Regions from separate parts of the Homo sapiens genome. Here regions 1, 2, 3 and 4 are each linked to region 5. The links are contacts of gene promoters, found by promoter capture Hi-C in blood cells and fetal thymus (Javierre and others, 2016). All regions are on one chromosome and are shown on one strand. The core of a region is centred on a gene start or on the middle of the fragment in contact, and the rest is flanking DNA. Distances in the headings are between cores, read along the strand shown.

Region 1 (2,700 bases), core at 162-2,661, 720 kb before region 5:
GGGCTGCAGGCTCCTTCTGTGCAGGGTCTTAGAGCCCTTCCTTCCCTACAGCACCGCCGCCCCCAGGAGGCTGGCAGGAGGGAGCCTGGAGGCTCTTCGTTTGGGAGCACATCCTGGGCTGGGGAGTCGTGCTTTTAGCATCAGAGAGAAGCCCAGAAACAGACCCTGATGCCAGAACTGGCAGACTGGGGGTGCTGGGACTGGGTGGAGCACCCCAGGTGGGAGCGGGGATGGAGCCTGGGCAGGAGCTGCAGGGGACCTGCCTACAGGTGGGCACTGGGTGAGGAGGCATCAGGAGCCAAGGAGGAAATGGCAGAGCAATTTCCGAGGAAGACGGGAAGATTCTTCGGCTTTGGCTTAGAGGATACCAAGCAGACAGTGGGCTCCCAGGCCACTCCCCTGGCGGGCGAAGCAGAAGGCAAAGGAGTTCGGCCCTCCCCCACCCCAGGACGGGAGAGAGTTTGGGGTTGTTTGCTTCCCCCTCCCCAAACCTAGGAGAACATTCTCTTGGCACCCCCATTCTCATGAGCCCCTGCTCTCTTTCCCTTCAGGCACCCCCGTCTCACCCATCAACGCCCCTGCAGTTCCCCACCCCCCAGAACCTCCCTGCCCAGCTGCCGCACCAGATTCCCACTTGCCCCCTGGCACCCTCTCAATTCACAGTTGGCACTGCGATGCCACTCCGCTCCCCTGTGCCCGCAACCTTGGCCAAGAGCTGCCGGGATCCTCGCCCTGGGGTCCGCCAGCGCTGGCACCCCCGGGGCACCGGTGCTGGGGAGCCTCGGGTGCCTCTGAGGGCACTGCCCGGCTCCCACAGGGGCAGCGGCTCCTCGCTCCGCCACACACGTTGTCCTTGGGCTGTTGAGGGGTGGGGGAGAGGTCCTTGTGGGGACACTGCGAAGCCGGTCCCAGACATCCAGCCTGGCAGTGTCCAGACTGCGGGGGACCGGGGTCCGAGCCGCTGCCGCTCGATCCCGCGCCCCCGGGGCTGGGATGACCCCTGGGGGAGCCCGTGCGGCTCCGGGCGGACAACAGCCCCAGGCTGGGGCTCCGAGACGGCGTCCGGCGCTGCCGCTGTCCTGCCCGCCGGTGCGGGGCGCCCCAGCCCGCCGGGGCCGCGCTTACCTGGGCTGGCCGCCTCCGGGTCCCGGTACATGGTCCCCTCGTCGCCGGTTCCCTCCGGGCTCCTCAGAGCCGCCCGCGGCCGCGCGCTGCTCCGCCGCCGCCGCTGGGCATGGGGCCGGGCGACCCCCGGGGGCGGGTCCGAGGGCGGGGGCCGAGCGGGCTGCACCTAGCCGCGGAGCCGGGGAGCGGGGGCCGCCCGCCAGCCCTCCCGCCCGCCCGCGGAGCACGCTGCCGCCGCCGCCGAACAGCGCCGAGCCGCCTCCCTCCGGCCTGCGCGCCGCGTGTGCGCGCCGGAGCGTGTGTGTGTGTACGAGGCCGTGTGTATGTGTGTGTGTGAGCGCGTGTGTGAGCGCGCCCGGGGCACCGCCGGCGCCGCCCGCCAGCCGCCGAACGCCGCGGCCACAGCCACCGCCTGCGCCCGCTGCCGGCCGCGCGCCGCACTGCACCCGCGCCCGCCGCCGCCCGAAGCCGCCCCGAGGGCACGGCCGCCGCCCCGCGCCCCGCCCGCCTCGCAGTCCCCGCGGGGAGGGCCGCCGAGCCCCACGGCCGGGCTCGTCCGGCCAGGGGATCCGGCTCCGCTGCGCGACCCACCCCCAGCCCGTGCTCCCCCGATGGCCGCGGCCTGGCACCGGGCAGGGCCGCAGAGCCGGCCACCTCCTCCGAGGTGCCCTTTGGCTCCGATCCAAAAGGCGTGGAGATCCACTCCGGGTTTTCCGCTTGCTGGCGGCTCGAGGGCGTCAGCTCCGGACTCAACACCGCGGCGGTCCGGGGCAGACGGACTGGTGTGTGCAAAAACCAGGAGTGGAATTTTTGGCAGCGCTGAGCCTGGGTCCGCCAGTCCGGTCTTTCTGCAAGCTCGCACACAGGTGGAGCCGAAAGGGCTAAGATCCCTGCCCTCGGTAGGAGGTTTGGCCTAGTGACCCTCCTCACCTAACCCAGCCCCACGAAAGAAGAAAATAGACTTTTCAGCCTCTGGCTATCCCTCTATAGCAGCAGCTCCTCCTCTGATCCTCCCCTCTATTCCTTGACCCTAGCACTTCGGAGGGTAGGAAGGAAATCCCTCCTTCTCCTTCCAACCCTGGACCTCTCTTGGTCCCCTCTGCCTCTCTGCCGGCTCAGCACAGTCTAAATCAGGTGAACACTCATTTCTCTACAGAATTTGGATGATTTGATTCTGGGGCAGGGAGGAGAAGAGACCTGTCTCCTAAGGATAAGAAAAACCCAGAAATGAACCATTAGTGGTATGGTAGGCACAGAGACCTCCCTGCACACACCTACACACGTAATCACCTACATACACACACACACACACACACACAGACATGATGCCCCCCACACACACACCCACACAGACATGCTGCCCACACAAAGAGACACATACACTGACGCTCCCCACAATACAGGTGCTGCCCCTACCCTTCACTGATGGGTCAGGTAAGAGGGCAAAATCCCTGGGTCTGTGGCAGCATCCTGCCCTCCCCTGTGCTGAGAATGCAGTTTGCAGGTGAGCCAGGCTTCCTAGAGTCAAGGATTATTATTTCCACCCTGAGAAATCCACTTTTGCTGGCTTTATAC
Region 2 (2,700 bases), core at 137-2,636, 720 kb after region 5:
CAAGGGTCTTGGTGCATGAGCTTCTGCACTCAGGTCCTTCCTCTTTGCCTGCCCAGTGACCTGTCCTCAGTTCCTGGGAACACCAGACCCCAGCCTCCTCTGCTGCCCACCAGCGGTGCAGGGTATGGGGGTACGTGGGTAAGTGGAGGGAGAGGGTTTGCCCAGGCATACCTCTGTCACAATGGAGTCCTTGGTGCTGTTGTAGACCCAGCCATCCAGGCATGGCTCCATGGCCCTCTGGGTGTCATTGGGCAGGCTGGCATTGGGCGGATGTACAAAACGGAGGCACCTCTCAGGCTTCCCATTTGGGCCCATGGGGAGCACCCAAGGCCCTGTGGAGGCATTGTGGGGCGGGCGACAGTGGTGGACAGGGGTGGCGGCTGTGAAGATCTGCAGCAGGTTGTGGTTGGCCATGTTGAGGATCGGGAGGCCCAGTATGGCTACATGCAGGAACTGGAAATGGCCCATGCTTCCCACACGGTCCAGGATCTCCGAGAAGGTCATGGCACTGGGGCAAGACGAGCCAGAGCTGTGGGCAGGGCATAGGCCAGGGAGAGGTATATTTGTGCCTGGTAGTGCGTGGGTCTATGGAACGATATGTGGGAGGGTGAACCAGGTGGATATGCGAGCACAGGTGTGTGGAGCAGAGCATGTGTAAGTGTGTAAAGATGTGGAAGCTCAGGCATGTGGAGCCGCAGATTCTTGTGTGGATGTCTGAGGAAGAGCCCAGCTGCACGGAGGGCTGTGGGATCAAAGGTGGAAGTGTGTGTCCAGGTGTGTGGACACAAAGGTATCTATGGGTATGTGCTCATTTAGGCTGCAGCATAAGGACACAGCTGCGTGAGCTCGGGTATGTGTTGTGAGCGTGTGCACCTGCGGACACGAGCATGTGTGTGCTCAGCTAGGCTGGTTGCACATGCTGCATGCATGGAGCAGTGCAGGACACGTAGCAGGGACCAAGGGGCCCAGCCTTGGATGTTGGCTACAAAGGACAGATTAGAGGGTGGGTGGTGAATGTCCCCAGTTGCTCCAGGCAGATACACAGGGTTAGCAGAGTTCAGGTTGTCTGCTGGGAAAGGCCTCCCCAAGCTCAGAGCCTCCTGGCTTCTGGCAGTTCCCTGGGGCTGGGCCCACCATGCTGGAGTATCTGTAAGAGCCCGAAGCAGGTCTCAGAGGGCACTAGGGGCTTGGCTAGTCGCAAGTGGAGCCTGGCCTTGGGAGATCCCTGGGATTCCTAGGTGCCTGGGCTGGGGAGGCCCTCCATCCCTCCTCACCTGGTGGCCGGGTCTGGATCCGATGGGGCTGGTGATCAGTGTAGTTGAGGTCCCTGCTCTGTCCTAGGGGCCGGCAGCTGCTGTAGTAGGGCAGCTCAGCTCTAACAAGCTGTGTTTGTGCCTCCCCCAGGGGGGCTTATATAAGGCATAAGCTGTTTCCCGGGCTAATGTTTGACTTTCTTTTGCGGATTAACGTCACTGGCAGGGAGAGTGCTGTGGACCCACCAAGCCCAGCTCTCCTCAAAGGGCTGCCTCAGCGAGGGCCGCTGGGGGTGGGGCAGCGTGGCTGAGCCTAGCAGGGCTGCTGGCTGGACACCACGGGCCCAAATGGGAAGTCTGAGACGTGCCTCCGTTTTGTACATCCGCCCAACGCGAGCAGCCCTGGCAGGCTCACCGAGGGGAGATTCTGGGAAGGAATCTGGCCTGACCTCTGAGGGTTCAAGGTCCCTCTCAACTGATGTTCAGAGGACTTGATGCTGAGGACAACCAATGGGAAAGGCACTGGTGCCCGTAAGCAGGCAGCATTCTCCTGTGTGCTACCTCCCCTGCCTGGCACCTCCCGAGTAGGGGAAGGGGATTTGCCTCTCAGGAAGTGTTAGGGCACACCCAGACAGAAAATGTCACTTTCATCTATCCCTGAGGACGCAGGGCTGCCATCTCCTGGGCCCCTGGGGCAGCCAGGACCTCCGTGTCTGTGTCTCTGACACAGGTGAACTGCCCCCTTCCATCCCACCCTCAATGGACAGGCTTCTCTCCTGATCAGCCGCTTCCCCCTGGGGACCAAATGTAGTCCCTGCTGTTTTATTTTCACTCTGAATATTATTTTAATTATATAATAATGTGTGTTTCCTGCATAAAACATGGGAAATACAGACAAGCCAAACAAAACAAATCAAAACAAAGCAAAATGTCCAGTCTCACCTGAGAGCCTATCTGTTCTTCTGGTCTTTTCCTCAGCAGAGACTTCAGTCTAAGACCTCAACTTCTAGCCACCAACATTAGGCTCTTTTAACCCTCACGGCAGCCCTGTGACTAGTCTAGCATTAATAATTAGGGAACTGAGGCAAAGGGAGATTAAGTGACCTCCTCACCATCCCCCAGCCAGGAAGCACAGGGCAGGGGCAGGGTGGCCCTAAGCCTATTCCCTCCCTTAGAACCAACATTCTCTACGAAGCCTATGGGGGCACTGTACTATTAATATATTGCCTCTCCCTTAAAGAGCCACCTAGAGGTCTGGGCGGGGTGGCTCAAGCCTGTAATCCCAGCAGTCTGGGAGGCCAAGGTGGGTGGGTCACGAGGTCAGGAGTTCCAGACCAGCCTGGCCAATATGGTGAAACCCCATCTCTACTAAAAATACAAAAATTAGCCAGGCATGTGGCACGCGCCTATAGTCCCAGCTACTTGGGAAGCTGAGGCAGGAGAATCA
Region 3 (2,700 bases), core at 1-2,500, 690 kb after region 5:
CAGGGCCCTGGAGACTGATGGGGGTCAGGCTGAGCCAGGAGAGGAGGGCTCACCCTGGATGATGCCTGGGCTGGGGCCTTTTGAGGACCTCTGAAGTATGAGGCTGGTGCTGTAGATCCTCAAACCAGCGCCGGCTGGCAATGCCAAGCTCCCACCTAGACACCCTGAGCCCAGCTGAGCCCCTAATCCCAGCCCAGCCCAGCCCCTTGACCCTACCCAGGACTGACCTGTCTGCAAGGTAGCCGAACACCATGGCTCCGAGCAGCACCCCCACCATGTACAAGGACTGGGCCAGCTGGCGTAGGGCCCTGTGAGAGCACACAAGGTCCCACTGTGGGGAGAGGAGCAAGGGTCAGGCAGAGATGAGCCTGGCTTCAGAGAATCCCCTTCCCCCACTTCAGCTGGTCCTCTGGGGTCCATGTCACCCTCTTCCTCCGGCACTTTGCCCTTTGCCTCTCTGGTCCTGACAGCTGAGAGCATTTTTCTTTTTAACTCAGCAGTTAAAAAACTCAGCAGTTAATTTCTCCATGTACTTTTTTTTTTTTTTTAACAAAGGCCCCCATCTTCCCATCTTGGCCCCTGGATGGGGAGCCCCAGGTGCTCACCTCAGTCACGATGGTAGATGGGAAGGTGCTGTTGTCATAGATCCAGCCATCGGTGCAGGGCTCTGTGGCCCCTGTGCCATTGGCTTCTGTGCCATTGAGAAAGGGCAGTCCCCACTGCGGGGAGGTGAAGCGGAGGCAGGACTCAGGCTGCCCCTGCCTGTCCCGGGGCAGCCAGACCTCCAGCCCCCCGTTCTTGCTGAGGTTGGCATCGGCAGGCGGGCGGCAGTGGTGGGTAGGGATGGCAGCAGTGAAGTTCTGCAGGGTGTTGTGAGAAGCCATCAGGAGCAGGGGGAGGACCACCAGGGTGACCTGGATCTGCTGGAAGCGGCCGACACCCCCCACCTGCTGCAGGAGGTCATTAAAGGCCATTGGGCCAGGCCCAGCCCAGTGGCTGGGGGCTGAGGCCTTCCAGTCCCAGGACCTCTGTCTGTCTGCCTGCCTGCTGTCCTTCGCTGGAGGAGCAGCACTGCCGTTGCCTCCGCAGCTGGGTTGCTCCGGGAGCTGAGTCCGAGCTGCTCTGTGGGGGGACAGCAGCCTCCTTGGCTGCTCCTCCTTCTTCCCCGGTCTCCCTGATCTGTCCCTCCCTTTTCCCTTGCAGCTTCTCCTCACTTTGGGGGTCAGGGCAGCTCAGCTTTCAGGGTCTGCTGGAGACCTGACCCTTGCATGGGCAGTTTTTAATCCTTGGCCTGGAGGGAATGAGTTAAAGTGTGACTTGGTATCAGAAGGATTAACCCTCCAAGGATTCCTTGTGTCAGTGGAATTTCTCCAAGTGGTTATAAAGGGCAGGAGAGGGTGGACTGAATAGGAGCAGGGAGAGGGGTGTATTAGGGGGGCATCTGGGGGCAGGGGGGGCCAGAGTGGGATCTATTGGACCTATTTGTCTTCCTTTTAGGAAGGAGACTGGGCTCTGGGAAGTGTGGTGGCCTCTTGAGGAGTTTCTGCCCTTTTTAGTGGATGAGATCCAAATAGTCTGCTTTTGGGAAGGGTTGCCAGGGAAATTACAGGGTGCCCAGTCAAATTTGCATTTTAGGTCAATGAAGAGTTTTTAAAAGTATGAGTATGTCTCTAATATTGCATGAGACATACTTATACTAAGCAATTCTTCATTGATTTGAAATGCAAATTTGACTGGGCACCCTGTATCTTTATTTGCTAAATGTGACAACCCCAGTCTTTGTTCTTCTGGGGACAGCTCACATCTTATAGAACCATGGTTTTATTCATTTGGAAGAAACAACAGAAGTCAGAGGCCGCTCTTGGAGTGGGACCTAAGACCAACGTCATACACAATGTCGGGTGATTCTTCCAGTGATTCTTCTGACCCTTCCAAGGGTCAGATTTTTCCCTTAGTCATATTGTCTTCTGTCCATAGTGTCTTTTTTCTTTTCTTTTCTTCTTGTTTTCTTCTCTTCTCCCCTCCCCTCCCCTCCTTTGTCACCTCCCCTTCGCTCCCCTCCCCTCTCCTCCCCTCTTCTCTTCTCTTCTCCTCTCTTCTCTTTCTTTTTGAGACACAGTCTCACTCTGTTGCCCAGGCTGGAGTGCAATGGTGCAATCTCAGCTCACTGCAACCTCTGCCTCCCAGGTTCAAGTGATTATCATGCCTCAACCTCCCGAGTAGCTGGGATTATGGGCATGTGCTACCACGCCTGGCTAATTTTTGTTATTTTTAGTAGAGATGGGGTGTCACCATGTTGGCCAGGCTGGTCTCGAACTCCTGACTTCAGGTGATCTGCCCATCTCAGCCTCCCAAAGTGCTGGGATTATAGGCGTGAGACACCATGCCTGGCCTCTTTAATTTATTTTTGAGATAGGGTCTCACTCTGTCATCCAGCCTGGAGTGTAGTGGCACAATCTTGGCACACTGCAGCCTTGACCTCTCCAGGCTCAGATTATCTTCCCAGTTCAGCCTCCTGAGTAGCTAGAACTACATGTGTGCACCAGCACACATGTATTTATTTATTTTTAAGAGATGTGGTTTTGCTATGTTGCCCAGGCTGGTCTTGAACTCCTGGGCTCAAGCAATCCACCTGCCTCAGCCTTCCAAATGGCTGAGATTACAGGAGTGACCTACCGCACCCAGCCATAGTGTTATTTT
Region 4 (2,700 bases), core at 1-2,500, 540 kb before region 5:
GGAATCCGGGGGCTGAGCTGGGCTTCGTGATGGGGGTGGCACTGTGGCCCGTGTCAGCCTGTCTCTGTCTGTCCCTGGTGCACCCAGGGAGTAAGTAGATGGGAGGGGTGGCCAGGCACAGGGTTTCCTGAGCCCAGGCAGGGGAGGAAATGGTAGTAGGGGGTCTGACTCATCCCCATGTCCCCAGCACCCAGTGCAGGGCAGGGGTGGGGGGTGGGCAGGAAGTGCTCTCCGGGTCAATGGTGACAACAATGGGTATGTGAACAGAGGCGGCGGGGGTGGGGGACGCACCCCAGAAAGCACCTCTCTGGAGGGCCTGGGGTCAGTGCAGGGGTGAGAAACAGGCAGTTACCAACCCTTTGGCCTCAGGGACTCTCCTGAGACTGGAAGGCTGGACAGAGTGCTCCTTGGGGTCTTAAGTAGAGCCAAGGAGGGCATTTGAGGGCAGAATGGCCTTTTCCCTGGGGGCCTGACTCCCCAATTACCAACTCCCAAGGGGTTACAGACTGGAGGGCCCTGGCAGCAGAGGCTGCTGGGTAACAGCCCAGCAGAGCTGCTCATTGGCTGCCACCCTTGGACTTTGCCCTCCCTGATAAGGAACTGGGAGCAGAAATTATTAACTGAATCATTAACTGGGTGGCCCCGCCCTACCCAGGCAGCCTGCCTTACCTTCCCACCTTCCTCTTCACGGACCTAGCACCTTCCTGGGCCTCAGTTTCTCTCATTGCCTTGGGTGCTGGAGTATGTGGGGCCTCCTCTCCTATCTCCAGGCCTTCAGCCCCGGCTGCCACGGGGTGTGGGTACCTCTTGGTTGGGTCTCGGGGTAGGATGATGTAATGGTTCTGTGCATTCGCCAGCGAGGGCAGCTGGGGTCTGTTCCTAGCTCTCCTGCTTACCCACAGTGCTTCTCTTGGCCGTATCAGGGCACCGCTGTGCCTCCGCTTTCTCATCTGTAAAACGGGAGTGCAGTTGTAATGGCAGGGCCTCCGTCCCAGGGTTTCTGGGGTGATTAGGTAAGATTGTGCCTGGCCTGGTGAACACTCCATTGGTCCATGGCAGGTGTTCTGCGCCCTACCTTGAAGATTACTGGTCCCCAGGGTAGGTCAGTGCCCCTAAGCTTAGGGGGCTTGTTGAGCATGTTCTGTGGTTCTGTGTGCAAGGCCTGAACCATGACAGCTCTGGCCCAGCGTGGCCTGGTCCTGGTCCCTGGCACATCCAGTGGGGCCCGCCCCACCTCCCCCTCTGAGATTTGGGTTCTGTTCTTGCTGCCAGCAAGGAGGAGGGGCTTGGCTGTATTGTGACTTCATCTGCTGCACCCAGGCTCTTTGCACGTTGTCTTCCTGGAGTCCTGGGGTGCAGTGGAAGCGTGGGTGACGGCCTCCCATTTCTGAGGGGGACTGTGAGGCAGGACAGGAAGGCGATGATGTGTCAGGCTCCCTCAAGGTGGCCACAACAGAGCTGGGACTGGAGCCTGGGTCCCAGCTCTGTGCCAGCCTGGGATGGGCAGGGAAGGGGCCTCTCCTCCTGACATGCTGAGGGGTGGCTCCAGCACGGGTGGCCACGCCAGGTGATGTCCGTGCAGCCTCCTTGACCTCTCTAGACCTCAGAGCCCTCACTCACATGGTCAAGGTTGGGTGATGTTAGCAGTTAGATCCCACGAGTGCCAAGGCCTGGAGTGAGGGGGGGAGGGGCAAAGCCCCTGGGTGGGGAGTACAGTTGGGTCCGGAGCCCCCTGCCGGCCTAGAGTATGGAGGGGGCTCCCGGACATTCTGTCCTCCCTGTGCCCCAGGTCGCATCAGTGAGGGAAGTTCTCCCTCCAGCTGACCGGGGTCCGTGCAGCCACCGGAGTGCACAACCACAGCCTCTGTCTCTCCTTTGTGGAGTTTGAGGATCCTATCTCCCTCCGGCCTCCCTCACTCCCCTCTCTTCTCCCTCTATGGCTGGGGCAAGGGGATCCCCATCCCCTGCCCTGCTAGCTTGGAGGAGGGAAGTTGTGCCTGTGACACTGAGTTCACTCAGTGGGGCCTGGCTCCAGCCGGAGCTGCTTAGGGAGGGTCTGACAGCAGGCGGGGAGGGGGCTTGGAGGGAAGAAGAGGAGGTGGGAGCTCTTCCTGGGTGGCCACTAACCTAACCCATGCATGTGACGCTGTGCCTGTGGGCCTGGGCCTGTCGTCGGGTCAGTGAGTGTTTGTGTACATGCGTGTCCTGGCATATACACCTGTGAAGTGTGCTGAGGTGTGAACATGCACAGGCATGCTCGTACCTCAGGGCTTTTGCACCGGCTGTCCCCGCCATCTGGAACCTTCTAGAATGCTAGGCATTTTGCTGCTCTCGTCATCTGACTCTGCTCCCTAGAATGTCAGCTCCATGTGGGCAAGGCTTTTGTCCCTTTTGCTCACTGCTGTAGCCCCAAAGCTGGGCACTATGCTTGCCTGGCACATAACAGGTGCTCAGTAAATAACTGCTGAATGAATGAAGGCACACGGATGAACGCTGGTGTGCGCATGTGTGTGGGTATATGTGTGGGGCATGCCACTGTGTGTCAGTACTGTGTATGTGTGAGTAGGGGGCAGGTGGTACGTGATCATGCGCATGTCAGTGGATACCTGACTGCAGGGTGTGCCCTTACATATATGTGTGTGTGTTGGCAGTGTGCCTGCGTGGGGCCACGCCGGTGTGTAGGCACAGATGGGCACAGGT
Region 5 (2,700 bases), core at 183-2,682:
CAGACAAGAGCATGGGCTGCAGCACAAAAATAAAAATATTGTTGATGTTAGGAAAGTCGATTTTTCTCTCATGGCTCCCTGAGGTTACACCAGACAGGATCCCCTGGGTTCTATGTTTCTATACCATTATTGTGCTGATGACAATACCAGAAACTCCAGGTGTGACTTTCTCCGGGTCACACAACAAAGGGAAGAGCTTCATATCCTCAGCTAGACTTCTTTTTCTTTTTTTTGAGATAGGTTCACCCAGACTGGAATGCAGTGGCACAATCTCGGCTCACTGCAGCCTGAATGTCTTGGGCTCAAGCGATCCTCCCTCAGCCCCCAAAGTAGCTGAGACTACCAGTGCCTGCCACCATGCCCGCTTTTGTGTGTGTGTGTGTGTGTGTGTGTGTGTGTGTGTGTTTTGTTTTGTTTTTTTTTTTTGTAGAGATGGGGTTTCGCCATGTTGCCCAGGCTGGTGCTGAACTCCTGAGCTCAAGTGATCTGCCCACTGTGGCCTCCCAAAGTGCTAAGATTACAGGAATGAGACACCATGCCTGGCCCACAGCTTGACTCTTGACAACCATAACCTTACTTCATTCTCATAGCCACTCCTGGCAGAAGCTTTAACCACCAGTGATAAGAGGAGGCTCAAGGAGGGTGAGCATTGTGCCCAAGATCAAGGGGTGGGAAGTGTCGAAGCCCAGGTTCACCCCAGACCTCACATTACATCATCTGACACAGATCCCATTCAGAAGTGAAGCTCAGGCAGAAGAATTCCTAACATTTGCCTGAACTGATTTTTCTATAAAACTTCTTAGATACTGGGGATTAGAAGAAATAGCTCTAAGCAGCCAGGCGCAGTAGCTCATGCCTGTTATCCCAGCACTTTAGGAGGCCGAGGCGGGCAGATCATCTGAGGTCGGGAGTTCGAGACCAGCCTGACCAACATGGAGAAACCCCATCTCTACTAAAAATACAAAATTAGCCAGCTGTGGTGGCCCATGCCTGTAATCCCAGCTGCTCAGGAAGGCTGAGGCAGGAGAATCACTTGAACCCCGGAGGCAGAGGTTGCAGTGAGCCAAGATCATGCCACTGCACTCCAGCCTGGGCAACAAGAGCAAAACTTCTCAAAAAAAAAAAAAAAAAAAGGAAGAAGAAAGAAGAAATAGCTCTAACCTTTATGAATCTTATTCAACAAGCACAGAAAAGGGTTTGGAATTTTGTTTGGTTTTGTGCAGACCCCAACCCAAAGCACAAATAGGTGATCTTGTGCTCAGAAGAGGGTGCATCCCAGGGGCTGGTGCTGGACTCATGACTGATGTACTCACCCTGGTAGCAGCAAAGGGCCAGCGAGACCATCAGGAGACACACTGACAGCCTCATGGTGGCTTATTCGGCTGTGAGCTCAGCTTTCACAATGAGTGATTTGGATTCGACTCCAGGAGCCTGTGTAGTCATGGAGGCCAGGGCTATTTGTACCTAGGGAGCCTGGCTGGTCCTACCTACCGGGGCACCTGGTAGGTCATGAGGCCTGGCTCCCAGCCCGCCCTTCCAAGCCAGGGCTGCTGCCGTCCATCAATGTCACCTCCTTAGGAATCTCTGCATCTGAGTGGGGCGGAGCACAAGACAGCAGCCTTGTGAGAACTCTGCTCTGTGCTCCAGGTGAGTGTTCAGGTACATCTGGAAATGTTCCTGGGATCCTCAATTTCCTTATGAGCTTTTGCTGATTAGTTCTTTTTATCTTTGTAGCAGTGCAGGGGCACAGGTGAATTATGGCTTCACAAGGCACAGGAAGCTGGAAGGCTGTGTTCTCTTTATGGGAGAGCAGGGACATAAGGAGACCCTGCTTTGATCCCCCTGCATGTCTGACAACAAGCAGGCTTGTTTCAGTTGCACATTGGGAAAGTCTAATCCTTCCCCTCAGCCCCTTCCATCACCACCATGTTCACTGCATAGGTACTGAAAACATAGTTGAATACATCCCACCTGTAGAAGATATGCTGAGGAAAAACATCTGCTGCACCTGTTCTCTAGCCTGCCTCACTCCCAAACCTGAATCTTGTTTATACGTGCAGTTATATATATGGCCAAGATTCACATTTTCTATCTATAAAAAGCAAGCTTTCTGTGATGTGTAGCCACCCACGTCTTATCTTAGGGCTGATCTGAAGATTAAATAACCTAACTCTTTTTCTCAAGAGCTTTTGGAGTGTTCAGAGCCAATCATACATCAGTGGGGCTCTAGGCTGGGAAGATAATAGAAGGGAAGAGACAGAGGAACAGGGTGGGTGGTCACTTCCCCCTAACCCCTAGGCTCAAGTTTTCCACTTCAAACCTATCTGTGCTGCCTGGGCCAATCCCATTTTTAAGGGAAAGTGAAGGAAGCCCCCAGACAAAGCAATACACACCCGCCTTCCCTCCCATTGCCGTGCCTTCATGTGGTGTGAGTTTAATCACCAGAAATTTTTCTCTTAAATAAACTTACATTTGAGAGGAGTCACAGCCCAGGCCATAGCTTTCCATTCTCAGCTATGTAGTCAAATCACTTGGAGCTTTTAAAACATACTGACCCCACAGGCTTCTCTCTCTGGCGATTTTGATTCAGTAGCATTGGGGTGAATCCCTCCTTTCTGTACTGTTTAAACTGCTCTGGTGTTTCTCACAGACAGCAGGGCTGAGATCCAGCCAGGAAAACCTTTAAGAAGGAAGGGGACC

Evidence for each region. Contacts are between HindIII fragments. The CHiCAGO score rates a contact against its expected background, and 5 or more counts as called.
Region 1: the fragment with the promoter of SYT7 here is called in contact with the fragment with the promoter of SCGB1D4 in region 5 in 4 of 17 cell types (M1 macrophages, M0 macrophages, neutrophils and 1 more); the score reaches 6.8 in M1 macrophages.
Region 2: the fragment with the promoter of SLC22A8 here is called in contact with the fragment with the promoter of SCGB1D4 in region 5 in 4 of 17 cell types (activated CD4 T cells, non-activated CD4 T cells, erythroblasts and 1 more); the score reaches 8.0 in activated CD4 T cells.
Region 3: a contact is called between the fragment with the promoter of SLC22A6 here and the fragment with the promoter of SCGB1D4 in region 5, in 10 of 17 cell types (total B cells, total CD4 T cells, naive B cells and 7 more). The highest score is 15.1, in total B cells.
Region 4: the fragment with the promoter of MYRF-AS1 here is called in contact with the fragment with the promoter of SCGB1D4 in region 5 in 4 of 17 cell types (M1 macrophages, naive B cells, activated CD4 T cells and 1 more); the score reaches 10.8 in M1 macrophages.

The regions. Positions count from the first base shown.
Region 1 is chr11:61,579,665-61,582,364 of GRCh38, forward strand. It overlaps SYT7 (synaptotagmin 7), which reads right to left and starts at 1,412. Exons shown (of 13, transcript NM_001365809.2): 1 at 1,126-1,412. The coding sequence starts at 1,156. LOC105369331 (a long non-coding RNA gene) reads right to left here. Exons shown (of 5, transcript XR_950166.3): 5 at 1,742-2,329. RefSeq lists silencers at 1,433-1,522, 1,543-1,692, 1,703-1,862. The HindIII fragment of the contact is 6,758 bases long and covers 1-2,700 here.
Region 2 is chr11:63,014,455-63,017,154 of GRCh38, forward strand. It overlaps SLC22A8 (solute carrier family 22 member 8), which reads right to left and starts at 1,387. Exons shown (of 11, transcript NM_004254.4): 1 at 1,275-1,387; 2 at 172-529. The coding sequence starts at 504. RefSeq lists an enhancer at 392-1,246. The HindIII fragment of the contact is 16,699 bases long and covers 1-2,700 here.
Region 3 is chr11:62,983,717-62,986,416 of GRCh38, forward strand. SLC22A6 (solute carrier family 22 member 6) reads right to left here and starts at 1,251. Exons shown (of 10, transcript NM_153276.3): 1 at 606-1,251; 2 at 228-331. The coding sequence starts at 974. RefSeq lists an enhancer at 388-938. The HindIII fragment of the contact is 6,991 bases long and covers 1-2,700 here.
Region 4 is chr11:61,756,414-61,759,113 of GRCh38, forward strand. MYRF-AS1 (MYRF antisense RNA 1) reads right to left here and starts at 1,251. Exons shown (of 4, transcript NR_026882.1): 1 at 1,076-1,251; 2 at 670-950. All of the region lies in intron 1 of MYRF (myelin regulatory factor), which reads left to right. RefSeq lists enhancers at 1-838, 1-347, 348-991, 432-481, 992-1,635. The HindIII fragment of the contact is 8,901 bases long and covers 1,116-2,700 here.
Region 5 is chr11:62,297,643-62,300,342 of GRCh38, forward strand. It overlaps SCGB1D4 (secretoglobin family 1D member 4), which reads right to left and starts at 1,433. Exons shown (of 3, transcript NM_206998.2): 1 at 1,314-1,433; 2 at 1-16. The coding sequence starts at 1,368. The HindIII fragment of the contact is 1,500 bases long and covers 605-2,104 here.